Regions from separate parts of the Homo sapiens genome. Here region 1 is linked to region 2. Evidence: promoter capture Hi-C in 16 types of primary human blood cells and fetal thymus (Javierre and others, 2016). All regions are on one chromosome and are shown on one strand. Each heading gives the region's core, a stretch centred on a gene start or on the middle of the fragment in contact. The rest is flanking DNA. Distances are from core to core; before and after follow the strand shown.

Region 1 (6,754 bases), core at 1,393-3,892, 240 kb before region 2:
TTGATTAACACATATTTTGTATGTTATATGTATCATACAATGTATCATACACTGTAGCCTTACAATAAAGTAAGCTGTAGAAAAGAAAATTAACATTTTCATAAGAAAATCACAAAGAAAAGGAAAATATATTTACTGTTCATTAAGTGAAAGTGAATCATCACAAAGATCTCCATCCTCATCATCTTCCCATTGAATAACCTGAGGAGGAAGAGAAATAATTGTTCTTGCTGCCTTGGAGGTGGCACAGCGGGGAGAAAATTCACATATAAGTGAACCCAGGCAGCTCCAACCCATGTTGTTCAAGGATCAACTGTACTTTGATCATTTTTAAGTGAATGCTATTTTAGGAGAGACTATTACAATGCAAGGGCTATATAATCTTATAAGCTGCGGCATATCAATAAATAAATAAGCAACAATAGGTGATCATGGTTTTATTAGGGAGATACAATGGGGACTAGAAGAAAGGAAGCATGGGTCCATAAAATGCTGTTTGAAAACCCTGCTCTAGAAGTCAGCCCATATGGGTCCCCAGCTAGAGAAATAAAATGTCACCATTTCCATTTTCACTGAGAACCATGGGATTCCACTCTCCAGTTGCTTTTTTAGGTGGTGGGATTTTCTCAGCCCCAAGGCTCTAACAGTGGCTGTTCTGTTGTATTTCCCTAACTGTGTGCCCACCCTGCACATGAGCTAGACAATTCTGAGGGCATTGTCCAAATGTGAAACACACAAGCTGGCATGGCAAAGAGGCTGGAACATAAACCCTGCCACTTACCTAATTTCACTGCTGTCTTCTCATGAGAAATTACTATGTAATCCAATTCTAGCTCCCACATTTTGCAGAATGATAAACTCACCAGAAAAACAAAAACATAGGCTTTTTGGTAAAATCAGTGGATATGTCCAATTGTTCTGGAAAGTTATCCTAGGAGAGATTTGTCCTAAGGACATTTCCTTCTTCATGGAAAGGAAAGCAAAGATAGGCTCATTCTTAAGATGCTGATGGCCAATTCAGCCCCCTCCAGAGAGCAATGCAGTCTCACCTGTCTTGAGGAAAGGTATGCATTTAGAGTGAATCTCTCTCTTGGATTCTATATATAAAAAAACCATTTACCTTTGGGTGATTCTAAGGTATTTATCAATCCACTTGCCTTCTCTCATCTATTCTGCTTCCTCTGGGCCCAGAAGCATTAACGAAAAGCTATTGATCATGTTGAGTGAAATGCTGAAAAAGTTACTGAGAGTCAAAGGGACCCTGCTATGAAGGGGCAGGGAAAGCAGCCAGGCTTCCAACTCAATCAGGGATTTATCTTCAGAGAAAGGTGCTATGTGTTGACAAGGGCTACTTCCATTCTTCTCAAAGGAAAGGGAGGCAGAGGCTCACCTCTGCCCAATGCCAAAGCTTCCCAATGAGGGGACCTAATAAGAGTTTGGAAAGTTTTGCCTCTCAGTCTCTGTAGCTTTTAAATGACTAACCAATCTTATTTTTAGTTAAACCCACTGTCTTCCAGTTCAAAAGTCAGCTTTGTCCTATGAATACATGGTGAGGAAGATAGAAAAGGATAAGGATGAGTCTCTTTGGGAGTGGAGGGGCGGCCACAGCAACTCAGATAGGAACAAAACCCTCTTCAAAGAGGGAATGGAGGGGCTGCCATAGCAACCCAGTTAGGAACAAATCTCCTTCAAAAATGGAGTAGAGGGTCAGCCACAGCAACCCACATAGGAACAAAACCCCCTTCAAAGATGGCAGAGTTTCAAAATGTTAGGTTCTGGGCAGACAAGGAAGGAAGCCTGATCTATGTTTTCTTTGCAATAAACTTTTTACTCATCTGCAGTCAAAATGCCTGCCAATACCATCAGGGTAAGTTGCTAGAGACATTGCAAGATTCCGAATGAGAGGGCAATAAAACATATGTACAGCAGTCCCTTCTTCTCTACGGTTTTGCTTTCCAAAGTTGCAGCTACCCATAGTCAACCGCAGTCTGAAAATATTAAATGGAAAATTCCAGAAATAAACAATGCATAAGTTTTACTTTGCACACTATTCTGAGTCTCGTGATGAAATCTTATGCCATCTCGCTCCATCCAGCCTGGAACATGAATCATCCCTTTGTCCAGTATTTCTATGCTGTATACACTACCTGCCCATTAGTCACTTAGTAGCTGTCATGGTTATCAGATTGAAAAAATATAGTATTTATAGCTTTGGTACTACTCACAGTCTCAGGCATCCACTGGGGGTCTTGGAACATATTCCCCGAGCATAAAAAGAAACTACTATATAAGAAAACAATTAAGGAAGCAATGTGCTTCAGAAAGCACGTGGATGTGTCCAAGTCCTGATTTCAGCACAAAGCCCTTTGCTCCACGAGGTCTTCTAGGCAGCCCTCTTCCATCATTCATCCTTATTCTGGGAATTAAAACATGACCATCAGGAGTGCCTAGGCATTCCTCATTCAACCAAAACAATTTAAGAGGACGTTAGGATTCCCTCATCTTCTCAAAAGCTGACCAAAATTTATTTTCATTCCCTCACTCATTTGAGTTATCCATAGGACACCTTCCTGATAGGCACTTCTCTTCATCCAAAACTCTCTGTGCCCTTTACCTGCTCATCCGAGACTTTGCTGATGCATCACTTTCCTCCAGGAAACCTAGCCTGCCCCCCATAGGTTCAAGAGAAGCACCCCCGATACTTACTCTATTGCATCCCACACTTCCCCAATTAGAAGTATTGTAATACTTGCCGATCTCTCCAGCAAAGCCATACATTTCATAGCAATCATGTCTGTCAGTCAGTGCCTGGCCCACTGTAGGCATGTATTAAGTATTTGTGGAATGAGTAAATGTGAACTACAGAATGGCACTACACCTGGCACTATGAAAATATGAAGATGAATTCTTTCCCGGAGCTGAGGGTCAGGCAGCTGGGATGAGAAATAGCAAGCAAACACACCAATTATTATACGCCAGGCAGTTTCAATTGCATTGCATGTATTAACTCAACCACTGAATTTTCACTATGACCCTCTAAGGAAGGTACTACTACCATCTACATTTTGCAAATAAGGGGACTGAAGCAGAGAATATCTTGCCTAGGCTTCCACAGATAATTGGTGGCAGAGGCAGGATAAAAGCACAGGTAGTTGGCTTCCGAGTCCTTAATGACTTTGCCACATTGCTGAGCTGCAGGTCCCCAAATGAGGACAATACATAGTACTAGGCATGCCAGACATGTGCCTAAAGTGAGGTACGCAGTGCTCCAGAAGACAGGAGGGAGAAATTAATTCCAGTTAAGGAAATTTCTGAGGTCAGACCTTAGCAACTCCCCTTATCCTCTCATCCTTCTTCCCACCTCATAGATTCTGCAAGCCACCAATTTTGGAACCAAGTGCAAAGCCTCAGAACCAATCAACACCCAATCAAACTCAGTGCCCAAGATGTAAATGGAAAGTTGAAGACCTAATTCTAATAAATTTCAGCATGTGGCCATAAATTGCTTTGTGAGTAGAGCTGGTAAAAATCCTTTACCTCCCAGATGAGATAAATATTGCTTGCTAAATATTACACAATGGTGCAACCTGACATAAGGTATGTTTTGAAAGAAAGACCTCTTGTCCTGACCCCTGTATTTACAGACTTAAAAATTGAAAAGATTTAAGATGAGGATTTTTTTTTTAATTTGGCTTTTCTTGTCTTTCATGGCTTTGAAAATAAAGTGGCAATTCATGGCCATAATAGGTAATTCCACGGTGTGCCTTACAGAGAATAAGGAAGGAGTCTTTCGTATTCGGTATTCTTATGTTCCTGCAGGGCCAGAGCCCGTGACCTTGTGCCCTGCAGCTGCTAATGGGAAATACCAAAGCTTGCTCATTCTCCTTTTCCCTCAGCATTTTGAAAAGACAATGAAAACATTCCTTGGCATCTGGTCCCTTAACCCCATCCTACGAACAGTTCTTTCTATCTTTGAAGAGGCCAACATTTATTATTATAATAAATATCATTTTCATACTTCTTGGGAACAGGAGTGGCTGAGGGGAACTGAAGAAAGGGGATTCTATAGGGTGGAAAATAAGAGAGAAGCTGAATTCCACGATGGGCAGTCACTGTGTTTGGGGGCATGATAGGATGATAGGAGTCACTGAGAACAATCATTTTAAGTAAACTTCATAAAGTTGAAATTTTTAAATTGAGGTTTTAGACTTTGGTACTTCAAACATTTACTTGTCCTTCCTCATTAATTTAAACTTCAGAAAAAGCAAAAATGATACTTACTTTTCCCTCCAGAGGAGAGTGCGATATCTTCATGAAGGGACAAATGTGTACTTGGTAAAATTGGTACAGCATTGTGATATGAAGAAAGTAAAAACAGAGTAAAGAGGCCAAAAAAGGTAGCAATGGGGTTTCCCTTTAAACTCTCCTCTGTTTTTCTGGGTAAGTTTCACTCTCTGAGAATACTACTCCTCTTCTTCCAAAACCCATGCCAAAAAAAACCTCTCCTTTAAACTTTCATTCATTCTGTCAGGCAGAGACCATCATGATGCAGTCTATGATTACTTTTCTTTTTTCTTTGAGGCAGGATCTCACTCTGTTGCCCAGGCTGGAGTGCAGTGGTGCTATCATCGTTCACTGCAGCCTTGAACTCCTGGGCTCAAGTGATCCTCCCACTTCAGCCTCCTGAGTAGCTGGGACTGCAGGTGTGTGCCACCATGCCCAGCTAATTTTTTTAATATTTATTTTTTGTAGAAATGAGGTCTTGTTATGTTGCCCAGGCTAGTCTCAAACTCCTGGCCTCAAACAATCCTTCACCTCAACCTCCCGAAGTGCTAGGATTACAGGTATGAGCCACTGCAGTAGCCTATGATTAGTTTTAAAGCTTATTTTCATTGTCCAATGAGCTAATCATCTCTTTCCTGGTTGTCAATTCGTTCTTTTAGAAGTTACTTTTTCCTCAGTGCCATCATCATCATCATCACCATAATCACTATCAGGGCTGCCGTTTGCAGAGTGCTAACAGGCATCATTTCCTATATATGTTGTTTCATTTACCCCCTCACTGCAGCCCTCTGAGACAGGCAGTGCTACTCTCACTGGAGCTGAGCCTCCAAGAGATTGGTAACTTGCTTAAGATCGTAAAGATCAGATCCAGGATTCAAATCCAAGACCAGTGCTTCCAGCATCCTGGAGGCATTCAGATGGGCTTCAGAGGTATCCAACCCCTCACAGTCTGATGGGGACAGCTGTGGTCATTTAGAATACTGGGAGGGACAAAGTAGAACTTGGTCTCCTTTCCAGTGTAGAAGAAGAAATACAGGAAGTTGGAAAGTCACCAGTTTCCCAAAAGGAAAGGCACCTTAGCAGAGCTTCTCAAACTTCACTGTACAAACAAATCATCTGGAAAACTTGCTTAAATGTGGATTCTGATTCAGTGGGTCTGGATGGGCCTGAGACTCTGCATTTTTAACTGGCTCCCAGGTAATGCAGATGCTGCTGGTCTGTGGACCACACTTTGAGTAGCAAAACCCTCAGGAACATCTACTTCAACCTCCTGCCCAATACATGATTATTCTGCACAGGCTCTCCAAAGACTGAAAAAAATTCAGGAGTAGTGGGGAAGGTCAATGACCCAAAATCTCCCAGAAATACTGGGCCTCTGCTTCTGAAATGAAATTTATTTCTATACCAGCTGTTCAATAAGTTAAAAATTTGTACTATGAGTTTACTACGAATGAGAGTTACCTATCTACATTTCATTTTATGTTCAAGCAGTATCGAAATGGGACTAGAAGTAGCCCCTAAAATGCATTTGGTAATGGAAAAACATACTGATCCTTAACTTGTGTTGTGACATATGAAGCTTTAATTATTTACCAGTTCTTAATGCCTGATTCATAATTAATACCAGAATGCACTTCTCTCCCTAGCTGCTCCTTGATTGCTGCCATGGCTATGGGATTAGCATATCAAGATCAAATTCATCTTTTCTTAGGAAACCCATGAATATGTATCCAGCTCATTGAAGGAGAAGTTTAGAATGCAATTTGCCAAAGCATTAAGAAACTAATAGGAAACAAAATTGATAATGGTCACCTTCTTAATTTGAATTAGTTTCATTAAATTTAAATTAAAAATTAATACAGTTGGAAAGTTTAAATGGGTCCTTCCCACACTGACAAAATAGCAAAATTGTCTGCAACTTTTAAAATGTCCCTTGTGAAATGATTAGAAGCAATTCTAGCTTTGTCCATAATAGCATAATTTGTTAAAACATACAGATTGCCCCTGAAATTTTACCTTCTAGAAATCCAAAATAGCAATAGCTCTCATTAAAAATCCTCTTCTCAGAATTGGAATTAGCAGGCTTGGTGACCCAGCCAATAAAAACACTTCCTTCATCCCCAATTCCTCTCCTATAGGCAAACTGCTTTCACCCTCAGAACTAAATGAAGAATGAAGCAGATGTTTTTAAAGTATATCCGTGACATTCTTACTATGATCACCTTTCCAGGAAATTTGGAGGCTTTTCTCAATAACAAGTAGAGGATTTAGAAAAACAAACAACATTAATTTAGGCTTCCAGTTTGAAACATGAAGGCGAATTTGCATTTTGAATGTTTGGCTGTGTCTTGCCTACATTTTTAGTGCTTCAGTTCAAAGTCAGATTGTAGAATTTTGAATCTTCTAAGATTTCATTTCAGCAGCATACTAATTCAGCATTTACAGACAGAGCCCCAAGAAATAAGGGCTA
Region 2 (5,811 bases), core at 758-3,257:
CGCCTGTAATACCAGCCACTTGGGAGGCTGAGGCAGGAGAACCACTTGAACCTGGGAGGTGGAGGTTGCAGTGAGCCAAAATCGCACCACTGCACTCCAGCCTGGGCGATAGAGCAAGACTCTGTCTCAAAAAAAAAAAAAAAAAAAAAAAAAAAAAGGCAAAATAATGCTGTTGTTCATTCTTCTTACATTTAAGAGAAATTTCTACTTCTTGCTTCACCAACTCTCTGTTTCCATTCTTTGCCATTTTTTCTACTACATTTTTGGTCTTTTGGTTTTCCTAGGAAAACACTATATAAGAAAACTAGTTCCTTGTCTGTGGTATAAGTTGCAAATATTTTTAATCACTCTGTAACCCTTTGCAATGTGTCTTCTGTGCCCAGGGAAGCAAATGGAACTACTCTCTCGCTGGTTCCCATGGCCTCTTGGTTGTGCCCTTCCAAGGCCTTTCTCTGTGCTCATTTTTTTTCAGCATTTGACACTGCTGACCCACCCTTCTTGAATGTGCCTTTAAAATTACATGTACTACTTTATATTGTACCATCTCCCACCTCTCTGACAGTTACTTCTCTTATTCCTTCACCAAAATTCCTGTGAAGAATGCCCTTGTGAAAAGAGGTCTTTGAACTCTGCCTCAGCAGTGCCCCAGGGATGAGCCCTGGCTGGAGATCTTGCTGGAGTTTTTTCCAAGCACCTTAAGTCTAGTGTGATGTGCAGACAGCTGTTTCCATAGCTGATTCCAATGCAGGCTCAGGACATTTCCTTGGCTCTTTTACTTTTCATCCCCACATCAAGCTCAACATGTCTAAAACTGTTTCTTCCAATTTTTTCACTTCCCTAGGGTTCCTATCACTCTCCCAATCCTCCTAGGTCTGAAAACTCAGTTCCCACAGCCCAGGAATTGCCAAGTCCTATCGATTCTTCTGTGAAAGTGGTCTCCTCCACTTCTCCCCTCCTTCCCAGCCCCAGGTCATCATGCTTGTCACCTCATTCTTCATCACATGTCTTGGATGATTCTTCAACACTTTCTCCTTCTGCAGTCCTGCACATGCAATCTCCCGCTGCCCTTTGGGGAAGCCTCAATCCCTCTCATGCACTAGTGCTCCTCACTTACACCTCACCAGAGAGCTCTGCACAAAGCTAGAATCGAACGCAATTTAAGGAAGCCTGGATCCAAATGAAGTACCATGTATCCTGGAACTGGAAGATGGCATTTCCAAAAGTGAAAATTTTATATACATACATACATACACACACACACACACACACACACACACATTTGTGTTATTCCTTTGGATACATCAGTACTCTGTGTGTGTGTGTGTGTGTGTGTGTGTGCTTTGCCATTGTTGCTTTTGTTTGCACTTATTTAATTTATTCAACCAACCAGCATGCACTTTTATTCTGGTCTCCCCAACTCCTTCCCTCCAGCCCTGCTCTGCTTAGCTCTCACTTTTGCTGCAGTTGTACCCAGACCCTAGAAAAACTGGTGGCAAGGAGCCATCCCTAAGACCCTGCTCTGTTTTCCAGTCCCAGGGGCCATCCAGCAATGCCAGGCCAGTGAGAAGGTGGCCTAACCCTTACACTCTTAGGCCAGTGTCCCCTGTCCACCTGCACCACTCTGTTGTCTTCTCCTTCACCTTCCATGAGCCATCTTCCCCCCACCCCCACCCCAACACACACCTACAAAGACCCTGCAGGAAATGGCCTCCAGCCAGTTGTCACAGCAGAGCCCGCTGACATTCTAAGACATCCTCCGGTGCATGGCTAATTGCTCTGGCACTTGAGTATTTCTTTGGGTCCCAGGATTCAGCATCCCGCTCTGAGGGATGCAACCACCCCCACACATTCAGAGTCACCGGGATGCTGTTTGGGGGGCCAGTAGACAGGATAGAGTGAGGAGGAAAGGGGGCATCCGGGAGTGCAGGACGAGCTTCCCGCGGCGGGAGAGAGAAGGGAGGAGAGAGGTGAGGCGCTGGAAGGGGTGGGGACCGCTGGGCTGGCCCAGGCGGGACCGTGCACCGTGTGTGCGCGCGGCGTTGAAATGCCCTGCACGTCGGGGCAGCGGGACAGATCCCAGGGTGCCCAGGGAGTCTCCAAGTGCCTCACTCCTCCCGCCGCAAACATGACAGAGAACTCCGACAAAGTTCCCATTGCCCTGGTGGGACCTGATGACGTGGAATTCTGCAGCCCCCCGGTGAGTACCGCCAGGGATTCCACACGCAGGGCCTGGGTTGTGTGAGTATCAGGTTCCACAGTTCGGACTCAGGGGTGCGTGCCACCGAATGGGTGTGTTGGCGGGGGGATAAATTTGGGTCCCAAATGTGTGGGTGGGATGTCGCCCCACGCGTATGAGTGTGCAGGGGTCACGGCATCCACAGGCGGGTGCGGAGGGACGTCCCGTGGCCGGTAGAGGGTGCAGGTCCTGGGGCGAAGGCCCTGTGCTGCGGGGTTTGCTCATCCCACTTCCACGCCCGACTGCAAAGGACCCTCGGGAGGGAGCGCGGCGAAAGGGGCACCCGTAGGAGCCCGGGCGAGCTGTTTCCCGCCCGACTCCCCACTCCCTGGGGGCTACCGCGTGGGGCCCGGGTGCGCTGGGGGCCGCAGGTGCTGGCGGCACAAACGCGACGGTCCCTCTCCCGCCCCGGCCCGCAGGCGTACGCTACGCTGACGGTGAAGCCCTCCAGCCCCGCGCGGCTGCTCAAGGTGGGAGCCGTGGTCCTCATTTCGGGAGCTGTGCTGCTGCTCTTTGGGGCCATCGGGGCCTTCTACTTCTGGAAGGGGAGCGACAGTCACGTAAGTCCAGAGGGCGGCGCGCGGGGACCCCCGTGTCGCCCATGGTGCCCCTAGGGGGAGCCCGAGCGCGGGCCGGCGAGGGGCGCGCGGCTGCCGGCGGGCCCCTCGGGCCCAGCGTGAGCTCCCCTCTCCCATCCCACTCTGGCACGCGGCTTTCCGCCTTAGGTCAACGTTGTAGAAAAGCAAGTGAAGGTTTCACGGGAGAAGATTGAAGCGTAGAGTAGGGGAGAATGTAGTGGACGGTCCGAGAAAGGCCGTTCTCGGCTCATCTCCCACTAAGCAGTGGCGCGACCGTGGGGAAGGCACGTCACCTTTTGGCCTCAGTGTACTCGTCCTGAAGGGAAAAAATGGAACTGGACGATCTCTAAGGCCTGTCCCTGCTAAGAAAGGCTGTGGGTTTAAAATCCAGGACAAAGATAGTGGAGGAATATTCAGACCCATATTCAGACCCATTGGGAAGGAATTTTTGCCTTTCAGAAGGTTTTTTTGTGACCTAGCCATGAACATTCCCTTCTCTCTCTGGAAAACAAAAACAAAAAACAAACAAACAAACAAAACGTCTAACTTCCTTAAAGGTGGAAAATCTCTTTAACAATTAATTCTGGCCTAGTCATCACATGTGGTTTAATAGTAGGTGTTTTACTAACTGCTGTCCTACTTTCTTTGTATGCAACTATTTATTTTAAAGCTCCACGGCTCTCGAGGAGTATAAAGACTGTTTCTAAGTTGACTGGGCAGAGCTCCAGTGTGTTCTCTAAATACTCTGAAAGTGTTCACCTATGTAAAAGGGGGCATTTTATCTTGATGACCACTGCCAGGTCTGGTATAAGCTTATTTCAACTAATGGAAAAGAATTCCATCTCCAGGGCACACACAAAGGGCTCTTTCATAATCACTATCCTCAGAGGATTGGTGATTGCTGTTTTTTCCTCTCTCCTACCATGAAATGCAAAGCATGAACGAATTCCAGTACTTACAGAAAATGGTGCTGAAAGCAATTCAACCATTTTACACATCACGTCTTCTGCAGTCACTGCATAATTTGTATTTTTAACTCAAATGTCTAATGTAGATAAGCATGCCATTTAGCACCGAGTCTGTTTTAGAGACTATATCAAATTTACAAGCATCGATTTGTAAGATCAGAATTGCACTGTATTTTGTGGGTATTTGAAAAGTGCCTTAATGTATTTGTATTTTAAATATAGAAGCTGGGCCAGATGCTCATGTTTGAAACAGCAAATGTGAATAAGAGAATGATTTCAATATCTACATCTCCATTAATAGCAGGGTTTAGATTGTCATCTCTTTGGGAAATTCTGTGGTTTTAGAATGTAAATGCTATCTTTTAAATAACAAAGCCTCAATGGTATAGGTCAATGGGGGATAACAATAGCTATGCTTTTTTTTGGTAAAGATTCTGGACATGATATATTTTAAAATGAATACCATTTGTCATTTAATTATTCAAGGTAAACATCACTAACTGACAGGCTTCTAAAAAGAGAGATTAAACAATCATACTGAATAAGCACAGCTCCCTTTTTTCATATATTTTACTTTACTGCAAGATGGTTGGTTGTCTGGTTCAGGAGAGCAGTATTAAATGCTAAGAATTCAGAGGAATAGTGAATCACATTTTATTGTCAACAATCAAAATTATTGCTATATCCTATACAGACAGGAGAATGAAGAAAATCATGATAGTTTTTTTCTCCCTGATCCATATGACTTAAGTATGAAAAACAAATCACAAAATACTAAATAGAGTAATTTTTGCACCACCTAGGCATAGCACATGCACAGGTCTGCTTTGCCTGAATACAAATCTAAATAGCTCAGACAAAACGTAATCAAAAAAGGTAAGTCTTTGTCAAACAGAAAGACTTGTCAAACCAAATGGATTATCCACTCTTTGGGGATTATCTGTGCCTCGGCTCCTCTATATTGGTTTATAGAGGAGAACCAGCTGTAATTCACCTCCTATCCTTTTCATGTGGGTAAATCCCCTTAGGACAGGTTTACTGAAATTTAGCTGGAGGACTATGAAGCACTGGAGTAATAATAATCAGGGGACAACTGAACTGGGCTCCAATATTGAGGCCATTTTTCATCCACATTATTGTAAATGGAACAAGGCATTGAAATATGGGAAATTTCCACCAATATGAGATAACTGACAACCCCACCCTGTGAGATGAGGGAAGGAGATCATTGCTTGGGGCCTTTCCTCTCAGACTAATTTTTCTAGACATTTTCCCAAACATTATGTAATTAATCTTATAGAACATAGGCCTTATTAAAAACTCATTAGCAAATATCCTTGGCTGTAAAAGGCACCATATTGAGCAGAATTTTGGCAAATAATAAATTTCATCTTGTTTGGATAAAAATAGCCTTGGGTGTCCACAGCTCCACGGACTTAGAGCAGATAAGGTAATTGCTGCTCCAACAGCCCAGCCTCGTCCCCAGCTCAGAGTCTAGTATGTTAGAAACTGGACTGCCTCCTCCCCCCACATCCTCCCCTAGTAGCTTCAGGAGGGGGACAGCTTCACTGCTGTCCCCATGCAGATGGTGCAGTGCACATAAAAGGTGGGCTGCAGGCCAGGCGTGGTGGCTCACGTCTGTAATCCCAGCACTTTGGGAGGCCAAGGCAGGAGGATCACTTGAGGTCAGGAGTTCAAGACCAGCCTGGCCAGCATGGTGAAATCCCATCTCTACTAAAAATGCAAATAAAGGCCGGGCGCGGTGGCTCACGCCTGTAATCCCAGCACTTCGGGAGGCCGAGGCGGGCGGCTCACGAGGTCAGGAGATGGAGACCATCCTGGCTAACACAGTGAAACCCTGTCTCTACTAAAAATACAAAAAAATTAGCTGGGCCTGGTGGCGGGCACCTGCAGTCCCAGCTACCTGGGAGGCTGAGGCAGGAGAATGGTGTGAACCCAGGAGGCGGAGCTTGCAGTGAGTGGAGATTGTGCCACTGCACTCCAGCCTGGGCGACAGAGCAAGACTCCG

What was found. Contacts are between HindIII fragments. The CHiCAGO score rates a contact against its expected background, and 5 or more counts as called.
Region 1: a contact is called between a fragment that was not itself captured here and the fragment with the promoter of CNMD in region 2, in 1 of 17 cell types (endothelial precursors). The highest score is 6.4, in endothelial precursors.

The regions. Positions count from the first base shown.
Region 1 is chr13:52,976,264-52,983,017 of GRCh38, reverse strand. No RefSeq gene overlaps it. Among named protein-coding and RNA genes, the nearest start is that of OLFM4, 49 kb to the left of the region's middle. The HindIII fragment of the contact is 2,463 bases long and covers 1,411-3,873 here.
Region 2 is chr13:52,736,016-52,741,826 of GRCh38, reverse strand. CNMD (chondromodulin) reads left to right here and starts at 2,007. Exons shown (of 7, transcript NM_007015.3): 1 at 2,007-2,197; 2 at 2,656-2,796. The coding sequence starts at 2,126. RefSeq lists an enhancer at 3,936-4,437. The HindIII fragment of the contact is 4,345 bases long and covers 1-3,628 here.